Regions from separate parts of the Homo sapiens genome. Here region 2 is linked to region 1. The links are contacts of gene promoters, found by promoter capture Hi-C in human tissues and cell types (Jung and others, 2019). All regions are on one chromosome and are shown on one strand. Each heading gives the region's core, a stretch centred on a gene start or on the middle of the fragment in contact. The rest is flanking DNA. Distances are from core to core; before and after follow the strand shown. Region 1 holds the start of SERPIND1 (serpin family D member 1). Region 2 overlaps PI4KA (phosphatidylinositol 4-kinase alpha).

Region 1 (5,888 bases), core at 1,652-4,151:
TTTGTGTCTGTGACCATTTCCTATTAGATAGATATTTGAGGCCCAGAATATCTGCTGCCAGTTGAGGCCAGGTAAGAGTTACTGGCTGCTCTTGTTAAGCAAATATTTGAACTCAGTAGGCCTGAAGATGGGGTAACTGTTCGGATACTCTGCTTGAAATGCTGTCAGTGTGGTTAATGTTGATAATGGCCTCTGTTGGATGCCTGACACGCTGTATAAGGCACTTCGTGTAACTTAGTTTCATCCTCCCAACATTTTATATATCAGGAGACTGAGCCTTTCGTCACTGTCACTAATAAGTGGCAGTGGCTAGATTCGAACCAAGTTGGTTAAGCCTCTAAGCCCCACATCAAGCGCTCAGCCTTGTTCGCTCTGGAGTACCAGGATGCTTCCAGACTCCCTGGCCGTGCAGAGCAGCTTCCTAGCTGTTTTCCCAGTGCCAGTCCCATTCCTTGGGTCTTCCCCTTATAATACTGTTGAAATAGTAAGTTCAAAGTTTGTTTTAGTCACAACTAAGAAAGACTTTTGAATTGCACATTTTGGAGCAGGAAAGTCACATTGTTTCTGACTCAAAATGCCTGTTGCCTTTTCCAGGTCCCCATCTCAGCACCTGCCTCAGGCTGCAGTGCCACTAGTTTACACACGGGAAAACAGTTTCTAGAAACGATTTCTTTTTATTTTTATTTTGAGACGGCGGGGTCTCACTCTGTCACCCAGGCTGGAGTGCAGTGGCACAATATTGGTTCACTGCCACCTGTTCCTCTCAGGCTCAAGAGACCCTCCCACCTCAGCCTTTTGAAGTAGCTGGGACCACAGGTGTGTGCCACCAAACCCAGTTAATTTTTTGTGTTTTTGGTAAAGATGGGGTTTTACCATGTTGCCCAGACAGGTCTCAAACTCCTGAGCTCAGGCAATTCTCCTGCCTTGGCCTCCCAAAGTGCTGGAATTACAGGTATGAGTTACCATGCTCAGCCTCTAGAAATGATTTCTAATGTATGTAGCTGCAAATAGAACTGGGCCCAGTTTCTGAATGGCACTTTGAGTAACTTAGCTTCATCCTCCCAGCATTTTACATATCAGGAGACTGTGTATCAATAGCAACACACTTTTAAAAGTCAGGAACAAAGAAAGTAAGCAGCTGGTAGAAGGCTCCTTGCCCAACTACACTTCAAGTGTCCTCCTCTTATCACTTCTTGGCCTTTTGGCTAAGATCAAGAAGAAGAAGACCAGGCATAGGGGCTCACACCTGTAATCTTAGCATCTTGGGAGGCCAAGGCAGGAGGATCGCTTGAGCCCAGGAGTTCAAGACCAGCTGGAGCAACATAGCAAGACCTCATCTCTATTTTAAAAAAGAAAGCCAAAAGAAGAAGGAACAAAGGGGGAAAATGTTTTCTTCTCAGATAAAAATAAGGTTAAAGAACAAAACAAAAACCAACTTGAATAAATAAGCATTCAGGAAAACGTATCTGAGGCCAGATAGAGTGGCAGAGTAAAGACATGCATGTTTTATCCCGGTATTCAGAAGTTATATTTGGAAACTTCTTATACCCTGTTCCCACATTATCTGATAAAAAGCCAAAAATAGTTTTCGTCATTCCCTTACCAGAGGAAGGAGAAAATATCTCTGATATCTTTTATGGATTGAAATTAAAGATCTGAAGGTAAATCTTCCTGATGTTTTGCTATTTAGTATAACAAACATTGTAGAAGACGTTTAAAAACTATCACTAGGTTGTGATTAAATCCAGATTACTGTTTGAAGAGAAACAATATATTTTAAAGATAAATCATTCAAAAGTTTGTTTTGCTTTTTTTTTTTCCTGGGAACTTCATATTGTGCTTTCTTGCTAATTGCCAGAGCTGGGTTGGCCTTTTCAGTCACGCATCAGAGCATAACACTTGATAAACCGTCATCCCTCCTGGTGTATGGTCTCCAGGCCCAACAGAGCAGGCAGAATGGGAGAGAAGTAACTGCCTAAAGTTTGGAAAACTTTTTATTTTGAAGTAAGTTCAAACTTCCAAAAATGTTGAAAGAATAGTGTAGTAGAACAACTCCTGTATACCCGTACCGAGATTTACCAGGTTTAAAATTTTGGAACCTTTGCCCTGTCATTATCTGTGTGTGTGTGTACGTACGTGTGTGTTCTCACAGGCATGCACATACACATTTTTTCTTCTAGACCATTTGAGAGTAGGTCTCCTATATCTTGTTCCTCTAACATTTTTTCTTTTTTCTTCTTTTTTTTTTTTTTTTTGACGGAGTCTAACTCTGTTGTCCAGGCTGGAGTGCAGTGGCACGATCTCCGCTCACTGCAACCTCTGCCTCCCGGGTTTAAGCGATTCTCCTGCCTCAGCCTCCTGAGTAGCTGGGATTACAGGCGCGTGCCACCACGCCCAGCTAATTTTTGTATTTTTAGTAGAGACTTGGCTTCACCATGTTGGTCAGGCTGGTCTTGAACTCCTGACCTCGTGATCCACCCGCCTCGGCCTCCCAAAGTGTTGGGATTACAGGCGTGAGCCACTGCACCCGGCCCCTCTAACCTTTAATACTAATACTTCAGGGAAAATACCCAAGAGCAAGGATATTCTCATACATAATCACAGGACAGTTATCCAATTCGATTAATTTAATATAAGTACAATATTTTCATCTATTCCACAGCTCCTATTCTAAGTTTGTCAACTCTCCCAACAATGGAACTGACACAATTTTATAATAGGCACACTGAAAAATGAAACCATTTCCCACTTCTAAAACAGTGTAGAAAGCTTCTGAATTCTTAGTTTGCTAGAAAAATGAACCAGTTGCCTATCCGTAAACACCAAAAATAATTTATAATCAGCAGAAACATTAGAAACCCAACTTACCTCTGTGTTTCTGAGAAGTGGCGCTTCAGAGATGAAAGCAGCCAAGGTCATCAGTGGGATTTTGATGTGAACTTTGGTGCTGGGCTGTTGCTGCATATTTTCCAAAGTAAATAAGTCCCAATCCAAACACCAGGCAACCAGCTTGGTCAGCACAAACCCCCTCAGCTGTGCCTTTGATAACTGTAGAGTGGCTTGCAGCTCCTCATCTCCAGTTCTTAGAGCTGACACTTTGAGTATATGACGGTTACTGTGTTAGCATGCACACATAGCCTTGGTGCAGGAGCAGCCCCTCTTGAGGTCACCACATAAACAAGGCGCTCTTCAGGCCTCTGGGGACCAGGCTGCATTGAGGGTAGCTGAAAGTAGAGACCATGCATCTGCCTCCAACTGTGTCCTCTCTTCTGGGATGATCACAGCATCTGCCCTCCACCTGCTCTCCAGGACTGATGTGGCTGGCTCAGCTACTAGGCGGGTGTCCCTGTCCTTCCAAGAGCTCGTTCCTCAGTGAAAGGTGGAGGAGAGAGGACAAAATTAGTGGCTTACAGAATAAGGGGATTGTGGCATGGACCTTTCTTCAGTCAAGGGTTGCTGTGTTTGTTGCCAGTAGGTGCAGCCCAGCACTCCTGTCTGTTGTGGGACAGATAGGACTATTACTGAGCAGTGCCTCCCAAATTCAGGGCCACTTAGGCATTCGTGGGGATCTCTGAGGCTGTGATACATTTTGTGTTTATGGGTGTTTGTTTGTTTGTTTGTTTGTTTTGAGACAGAGTTTCGCGCTGCTGCCCATGCTGGAGTGCAGTGGTGCGATCTCAGCTCACTGCAACCTCTGTCTCCCAAGTTCAAGCGTTCTCCTGCCTCAGCCTCCTGAGTGGCTGAGATTACAGGCGCACACCACCATGTCCAACTAATTTTTTGTATTTTTAGTAGAGACGGGGTTTCACTATGTTGGCCAGGCTGGTGTTGAACTCCTGGAGTGAAGTGATCCTCCCGTCTCGGCCTCCCAAAGTGCTGGGATTACATGCGTGAGCCACCACGCCTGGCCCTATGTGTTTTTTGAGACAGGGTCTCACTCTGTTACCCAGGCTGGAGTGCAGTGGCGTGATCTTGGCTCACTGCAGCCTCAACCTCCCGAGCTGAAGCAATCCTCCTCACCTCAGCCCTGCAAGTAGCTGGGAATACAGGTGCACACCACCATGTCTAGCTAACTTTTGACTTTTTTGTAGAGACAGGGTCTCACTATGTTGCCTAGGCTGGTCTTGAACTCTTGGGCTCAAGTGATCCTCCTGCTTCAGCCTTGCAAAGTGCTGGGATTACAGGCATGAGTCACTGTGCCCGGCCTTATGATAATTTGTTTTTTAATTTGTGTTTTAAATTTTATGATCTAAAAAGTTTTAAGAATATTCTGGATTGTCTGGAAGATCAGCTTATCACAGAGACTGCTCCTCAAGAGCATGTTTGGGAGTGTCGGCACCCAGAGTCTATCTGAAGAGAGAATGTGACTCCTAGGAGAATCTGCGGGTGTGCAAGGGGCCCATGGGGGTGTCTGTGCATTGCTCCGTTTGAGAAATTCCAGAGTGTAAAGGTCCATTGTGTTCAGGACACAGACCGGTGGTTGTGTCTGAGTCTGATTTTGCACTCTAGCTTTTGTCAGAGCTGTCTTCTTAGAGCCTTCATCTGTCACATACAATACTGAGTCTTCAGCGTGGCACCACAGGCAGAGGCTGCTGTCTGTGCCCACACTCCTCGTGGGCCCACCTCCCTCATTCTCTGTCTTGTTCTCACACATGCAAAGCCCGGCCCCAGCACAGCCCTGGCACTTGCTATTCTTTCTGCCCAGGACACCATCCCTGCAGACCAGCAGGTGGCCGCTGCTCTCACTGTTCGCTCTTGGTTTCACCGAGGCGTCACCAGCCACCCTGGCTGAAATTGCCCCTTGGCCTCCAGCTCTCAGTATTCTGCTCTCTGAAATGAGGGTGACAGTTACACCTACTGCATGAGGTTGTTGTGAAAATTAAATGAGATACATTAATTTATCTCATTAATTAAATGAGAAAATTAAATGAGGTTAATGAATGTGTGGAAAGCACATAGAGTGGTGCCTGGCATTCAGAAAATGTTAGTCCTCATCATTTCATGGTATTACATATTTATTCACAGAAATGGTCTGGGAGGGGACACAGCATTCATTTTTCATTCTATGTACTTCTTTGTTTGACCTTTTTCTATGTGTATGTATTACTTTTGTTATTTTTAAAGCCAGTACCGGCCAGGTGTGGTGGCTCACACCTGTAATCCCAGCACTTTGAGAGGCCAAGGCGGGTGGATCACTTGAGGTCAGGAGTTCAAGACCAGCCTGACCAACATGGTAAAACCCCGTCCCTACTAAAAATACAAAAATTAGCTGGGTGTGGTGGCACACATCTGTAGTCCCAGCTACTCGGGAGGCTGAGGCAGGACAATCGCTTGAACCTGGGAGGTGAAGGTTGCAGTGAGCCGAGTTCATGCCACTGTACTCCAGCCTGGGTGACAGAGTGAGACTCTGTCTAAATAAATAAATAAATAAATAAATAAATAAATAAAGCCAACATATTTCCTGTCTATTTGGATTTCTGATCATGTAACCCACTATTGGAAAAATTTGATTTCAGTCCCTCTTGACATTGACATTTTTCAGTCATTTTCCCATTTAGTGGTAACAGCTTGTGTATGGCTTTTTTTTTTTTGAGACAGAGTCTCGCTCTGTCGCCCAGGCTGGAGTGCAGTGGCGCAATCTCAGCTCACTGCAAGCTCCGCCTCCTGGGTTCACGCCATTCTCCTGCCTCAGCCTCCCTAGTAGCTGGGACTACAGGTGCCCACCACCACGTCTGGCTAATGTTTTGTATTTTTAGTAGAGACGGGTTTCACCATGCTGGCCAGGCTGGTCTTGAACTCCTAACCTCATGATCCGCCCGCATCGGCCTCCCAAAGTGCTGGGATTACAGGCGTGAGCCACCACAGCTTGTGTATGGCTTTAACCCCAC
Region 2 (5,465 bases), core at 2,147-4,646, 33 kb before region 1:
CTTTTTTTGTATTTTTTAGTAGAGACTGGGTTTTACCGTGTTAGCCAGGATGGTCTCAATCTCCTGACCTCGTGATCTGCCTGCCTCTGCCTCCCAAAGTGCTGGGATTACAGGCGTGAGCCACCATGCCCGGCTGGAACTCTTGTCTTTAATGTATTTGGAACCAAGGCCTACAGCATTATTTATGAAATCATTACATTGGTGCTGGGAGGTCTCAAAAATCTCGGGGAACATTTGGGTCAGGCCCCTCTTGAGGGTTAGGATGCAGACAGGTTGTCATTTGCCAGGCTAATTATTACCATGGGTATGTCCCTGACCCAGATTCCTTATTGAAGCCTGGTGTTCCTTCTCTCACCTGATTTTAAGACACACAGTGCCTGATACCACTGTACCTGGGGCTCAGGTATGAAGCAGGGAAGGAACTACCAGGGCCCTTCATGTGCTGTAGACCATGTCTCTTCCTGCTTCGTACCCCTGCCAACGAGCTATTGCAGATGTGAGATGTATGTGCTGGCCGTGGTTTGGTCTGGGTTGGTTCTTGGTTAAGTAACAGAGTTCTTATAACTCCCCAAGTTGCATCTGGGCAGTTCCTACCTTGTCTCCAACCCTTTTTCAGGTTGTCGTTCTGCCCATTGGCCTGAGCTTTAACTCTCTCACTCACTCACTATAGACTGAGCTTGTGGTCTCAGAGACCTTTGGTTTTCCATCATAAGTGTTTGATCATTTGTGACTGAGGGCAGACCAGGAGGACCAGGGCGAGAGCTGGGCTGGGCAGTTAGACAAGTGGAGACTTAGTGGGCCTGCACTCCACCTCTGGGACCCTCCTTCTCATTGAACCAGGGCAGTTTCTGGTATTTTTTGTTTTGTAATTTGTTCTTTAGCATAAACATCCATTTGAAGAAACAGTTTCATAGCTAAAAAAAAAAAAGTTTCTTGTAATCTTGACCTAGAGTCTGCAATATATTACTCAGTATCCATAATCAGTGTAATAACCACTACCAATTATTACATGCTTATTATGTGCCAGAACTTTACTCACTCACTCCTTGAATCTCACAACAATCCCCAGTTTACATATGGGGAAACTGAGGCTTAGCTCAGGAACTTTATTTACATAGCTCGTGAGTGATGGAGCTGGGCTGTGGGCTTGTAAGATGGTTGGTCTCCAAGGCTCCAAAGTTTAACACTCGTGTTGTCTGGACTCCCAGAGTCAAAGCCCTGAACTGCTTTAACCTCTCCCAGTCTCATTTCTCCATTTCTGCCCTGTGAGGACCACCAGACGTTGTCTGTAAAGCCATCATTGCAGTGCTGTCAACCACAGCTCTTCCTGTCAGTGTCCTCCTGGGAATTGGCATGACTCTCACACTCTCCACATGATTCTTTTTTTCTCCACCTGCTCACTCACCCTCTGTCAACCTCACACTGCATGCCCTATCCCACTCTGGCCAACTTCTGGCGCCTTAAAGATTTGCTATATTTGCAGACCACTTTTATACTTGTCAAGAATTATAATATTAGCTGGGCATGGTGGTACATGCCTGTAGTCCCTGCTACTCAGGAGGCTGAGGCAGGAGGATCACTTGAGCCCAGGAGTTCAAGGCTGCAGTGAGCTGTGATCATACCACTGCATTCCAGCCTGGGGTACAGAGTGAGACCCTATCTCTAAAAAAAAAAATGAAAAAAACGAGTTATGATAAACCATAATTTTCCATCCTACTCAACTAGGAGTATATAGAAGTTAAGGACTGTTATCTTTTTTTTTTTTTTTTTGAGACGGAGTCTCACTCTGTCACCCAGGCTGGAGTGCAGTGGCGTGATCTTGGCTCACTGCAAGCTCCGCCTCCCAGGTCAAAGCAATTCTGCCTCAGCCTCCTTAGTAGCTGGGATTACAGGTGCACGCCACCACGCCCGGCTAATTTTTTGTATTTTTAGAAGAGACAGGGTGTCACCATGTTGGACAGGCTGGTCTTGAACTCCTGAACTCCTGATCTCGTGATCCACCCGCCTTGGCCTCCCAAAGTGCTGGGATTACAGGCGAGAGCCACTGCACCCAGCCTTTTTTTTTTTTTGAGACAGAGTTTTGTTCTTGTTGCCCAGGCTGGAGTGCAATGGCGCGATCTCTGCTCACCACAACCTCTGCCTTTCAGGTTCAAGCAATTCTCCTGCCTCAGCCTCCCAAGTAGCTGGGATTACAGTCATGTACCACCACGCCCAGCTAATTTTGTATTTTTAGTAGAGACAGGGTTTCTCCATGTTGGTCAGGCTGGTCTCAAACTCCCGACCTCAGGTGATCCACCCTCCTTGGCCTCCCCAAATGCTGGGATTACAGGCGTGAGCCACCACACCCGGGCTGGACTATTATCTTTCTTAACTCATTAGACCTTGTGTGAATTTTTTTTTTTTTTTCAGAAGAAGAATAGTGCTACATTTCAAATAGATTCCTAAAGAATAATTTAAAATGAGTTTTAATTACAAAACATAAGTTGTATCTGAAGGTGTCCTGGCTGTAATTTGTATCCTTGGGATGATGGACAGTGTGGATCCCTTACTCTGGTGGCCTTTGTCAGTCTTCCTCCTTCACCACTTCCCATGTCCCTGTCTGGGCCAATGATGGCCAAAGATGGTGAGCTTCAGCCACAGCAAGGAGGTTCTTCCTACTAGGGTGCAGATGGCTGCTCCCCCGCAGGCATCTCTGGACTGCATGAGCCTCCTGTTTTCCTTGGTCTGATGCTTAAGAGGATGAAGACAGTAGAGTGTCCAAGTGATGAGTCATGATAAACAGTTGCTTCATTTAGAATGCTAAGTCACGAATCACCATTCCGCTGGGCCTTGCTGTGAAGGCAAAGGGTGGGCAGAAGGGCATTTCTGTTCTATAGTCATGTGTGTCTGCCTTCCCTGCAGGCCAACCCCAGTGCTGATCTCTACTACACTTCCTTCAGTGACCCTCTCTACCTGACCATGTTCAAGATGCTGCGTGACACTCTGTACTACATGAAGGGTGAGGACAGTTTGCCCATGTGTTTGTGAGTACAGCAAGACTGGCTCCCAGGCCACTGTCGCATGCTAGTGGTTGCAGACTGGTACTCACTTTCTGCTGGGGCCACTGAAAAACACATATGAGCAAAGTGGTCATGTTACTGAAATTTTGGGAAAAAAGCAAATTTAAAAAATCTGTCCATGATCCTGCAACCCCGGTACCATCGATGATGGCTCCTTTGCTGAGTTTATTTCCTAAGGTGTTTATCTAAAATGTGCATGTTATATTGTCCTAAGGACAGATACAGTTTTACATATCCATTTAGATAGTTTAAAAAATTAAAAAAGAGGCCAGGCACAGTGGCTTATGCGTATAATCCCAGCACTTTGGGAGGACAAGGTGGGCTGATCACTTAAGGTCAGGAGTTCGAGACCAGCCTTGCCAAACAGGGTGAAACCCTGTCTCTACTAAAAATACAAAAGAAATTAGCCAGGCGCAGTGGCATGCACCTGTAATCCCAGCTACACAGGAGGCTGAGGCAGGAGAATCGCTTGAACTTGGGAGGCGGAGGTTGCAGTGAGCCCAGATCGTGCCACTGCACTCCAGCCTATGTGACAGAGTAAGACTCCATCTCAAAAACATTAAAAAAAAGAAAATGAAGTACTTGTAATACATGTAATCTGTTAATGTAGAGGTACTAGCTTTTTTTTTCAGACAGAGTCTTTCCCTGTCGCCCAGGCTGGAGTGCATTGGCATGATCTGGGGTCACTGCAACTTCTGCCTCCCAGGCTCAAGCAATTCTCTCGTGCCTCAGCCTCCCAAGTAGCTGGGATTACAGGCATGTGCCACCACGTCTGCCTAATTTTTGTATTTTTAGTAGAGATGGGGTTTTACCATGTTGGCCAGGCTGGTCTTGAACTCCTGGCCTCAAATGATCCACCCACCTTGGCCTCCCAAAGTGCTGGGATTACAGGTGTTAGCCACTGCACCCAACCTGAGACAATAGCTTAATAGTTAACATGCACACACAACAATTTAGCATTTTCTTCTAGTCCCTCTTTCATGAATTTTGTTTTTCCCAGAAGTGAGGAAACAATCTTTTATGCATTTTACAAAATGTTTTTCCTATGCTCTCCCCTCACACTGTTGAGTGTTCTTCGTAAGCTTAAGTTTTGATGAGCACATAATATTTTGTCAGGAAGGTATACCAAAATTTAGTAACCACTTTCCTAATCTGATTCTGAACATTCCTCAGAAGCTGAGTCATCTGGGCCACGGCAAGGGTTGAAACTCCCTAAGAAGGGGCATCAGGGATTACCCCTGCCCTCCCCACCACCCCTGCTGTGTGTTGCTGGCTGCCTTGGCTGGGCTGACTTGTGCGTGCATCATGGTGGTTCTCCTGAATTTTCCAGGCCCTGGGGATGAGAGTTTGAAAAGTCTCTCAAACTCAGGGTGAGTGCTCTGAAGATCCAGATAATTCTCTTCTCAAGGCTGCAACCAGTTTTTGCCCTTATCTGACAACCTTTTTCTTTCTTTTTTTTTTTTTTTTTGAGATGGGAGTCTCGCTCTGTCGCCCACGCTGGAATGCAGTGGCACGATCTTGGCTCACTGCAAGCTCCGCCTCCCGGGTTGACGCCATTCTCCTGCCTCAGCCTCCCGAGTAGCTGGGACTACAGGCGCCCACCACCACGCCCGGCTAATTTTTTGTATTTTTATTAGAGATGGGGTTTCACCGTGTTAGCCAGGATGGTCTCGATCTCCTGACCTCATGATCTGCCCGCCTCGGCCTCCCAAGTTGCTGAGATTACAGGCGTGAGCCACCGCGCCTGGCCCTGACAACCTCTTTCTTAAAAGAAAAAAAAATCACAGAAGTATCTCATATTGTCAGTGGAAGTAGTTCCAGCAACGATACTTCCCAATTTATATGTTTCATGTATTCAGGTTTTAGTACGTTGACTGCTTAAAACAAAGCATGGCTGTAACATCCCTGGGAAATGATCATTTCCTCTGATTGCCAGGTTGTGTGCACGTGGAGGACAGCTGTGCAATTCCTATCCAACTTCTTTCCAGTGGGCATTCTAGGACCCACAGTGGCCAGTAGCAAATGCTACTTTTCTGGGGTTTTTGTTAAAAGGGGAAGACTGTAGCCGCTGCTAGCACTGCCTGTGTTCTACTGTAGTTTTGTTCCCAGCTGTGATGCCACACTCTTTCCTACAGACCTCCCGACCTCTTTTGTGAAGGAGATCCATGATTTTGTGCTGGAGCAGTTCAACACGAGCCAGGGGGAGCTCCAGAAGATTCTACATGACGCAGACCGGATCCACAATGAGCTGAGCCCCCTCAAACTGCGCTGTCAGGCGAATGCTGCCTGTGTGGACCTCATGGTGTGGGCTGTGAAGGACGAGCAGGGTGAGACAGACTGCCTTGCCTCTCATGTGAGCTCCAGGCATGACCCAGAGGCTTTCTTGCCACAAGTTTCCCCAAACTA

What was found. Contacts are between HindIII fragments. The study calls those that stand out against the background at their distance.
Region 2: a contact is called between a fragment that was not itself captured here and the fragment with the promoter of SERPIND1 in region 1, in 3 of the 25 tissues and cell types used here (IMR-90 fibroblasts, dorsolateral prefrontal cortex and lymphoblastoid cells).

What each region holds. Positions count from the first base shown.
Region 1 is chr22:20,771,126-20,777,013 of GRCh38, reverse strand. SERPIND1 (serpin family D member 1) reads right to left here and starts at 2,901. Exons shown (of 5, transcript NM_000185.4): 1 at 2,869-2,901. All of the region lies in intron 19 of PI4KA (phosphatidylinositol 4-kinase alpha), which reads left to right. The HindIII fragment of the contact is 14,489 bases long and covers 1,383-5,888 here.
Region 2 is chr22:20,804,895-20,810,359 of GRCh38, reverse strand. It overlaps PI4KA (phosphatidylinositol 4-kinase alpha), which reads left to right. Exons shown (of 55, transcript NM_058004.4): 10 at 2,902-2,998; 11 at 5,195-5,386. Among named protein-coding and RNA genes, the nearest start is that of SERPIND1, 34 kb to the right of the region's middle. The HindIII fragment of the contact is 6,426 bases long and covers 184-5,465 here.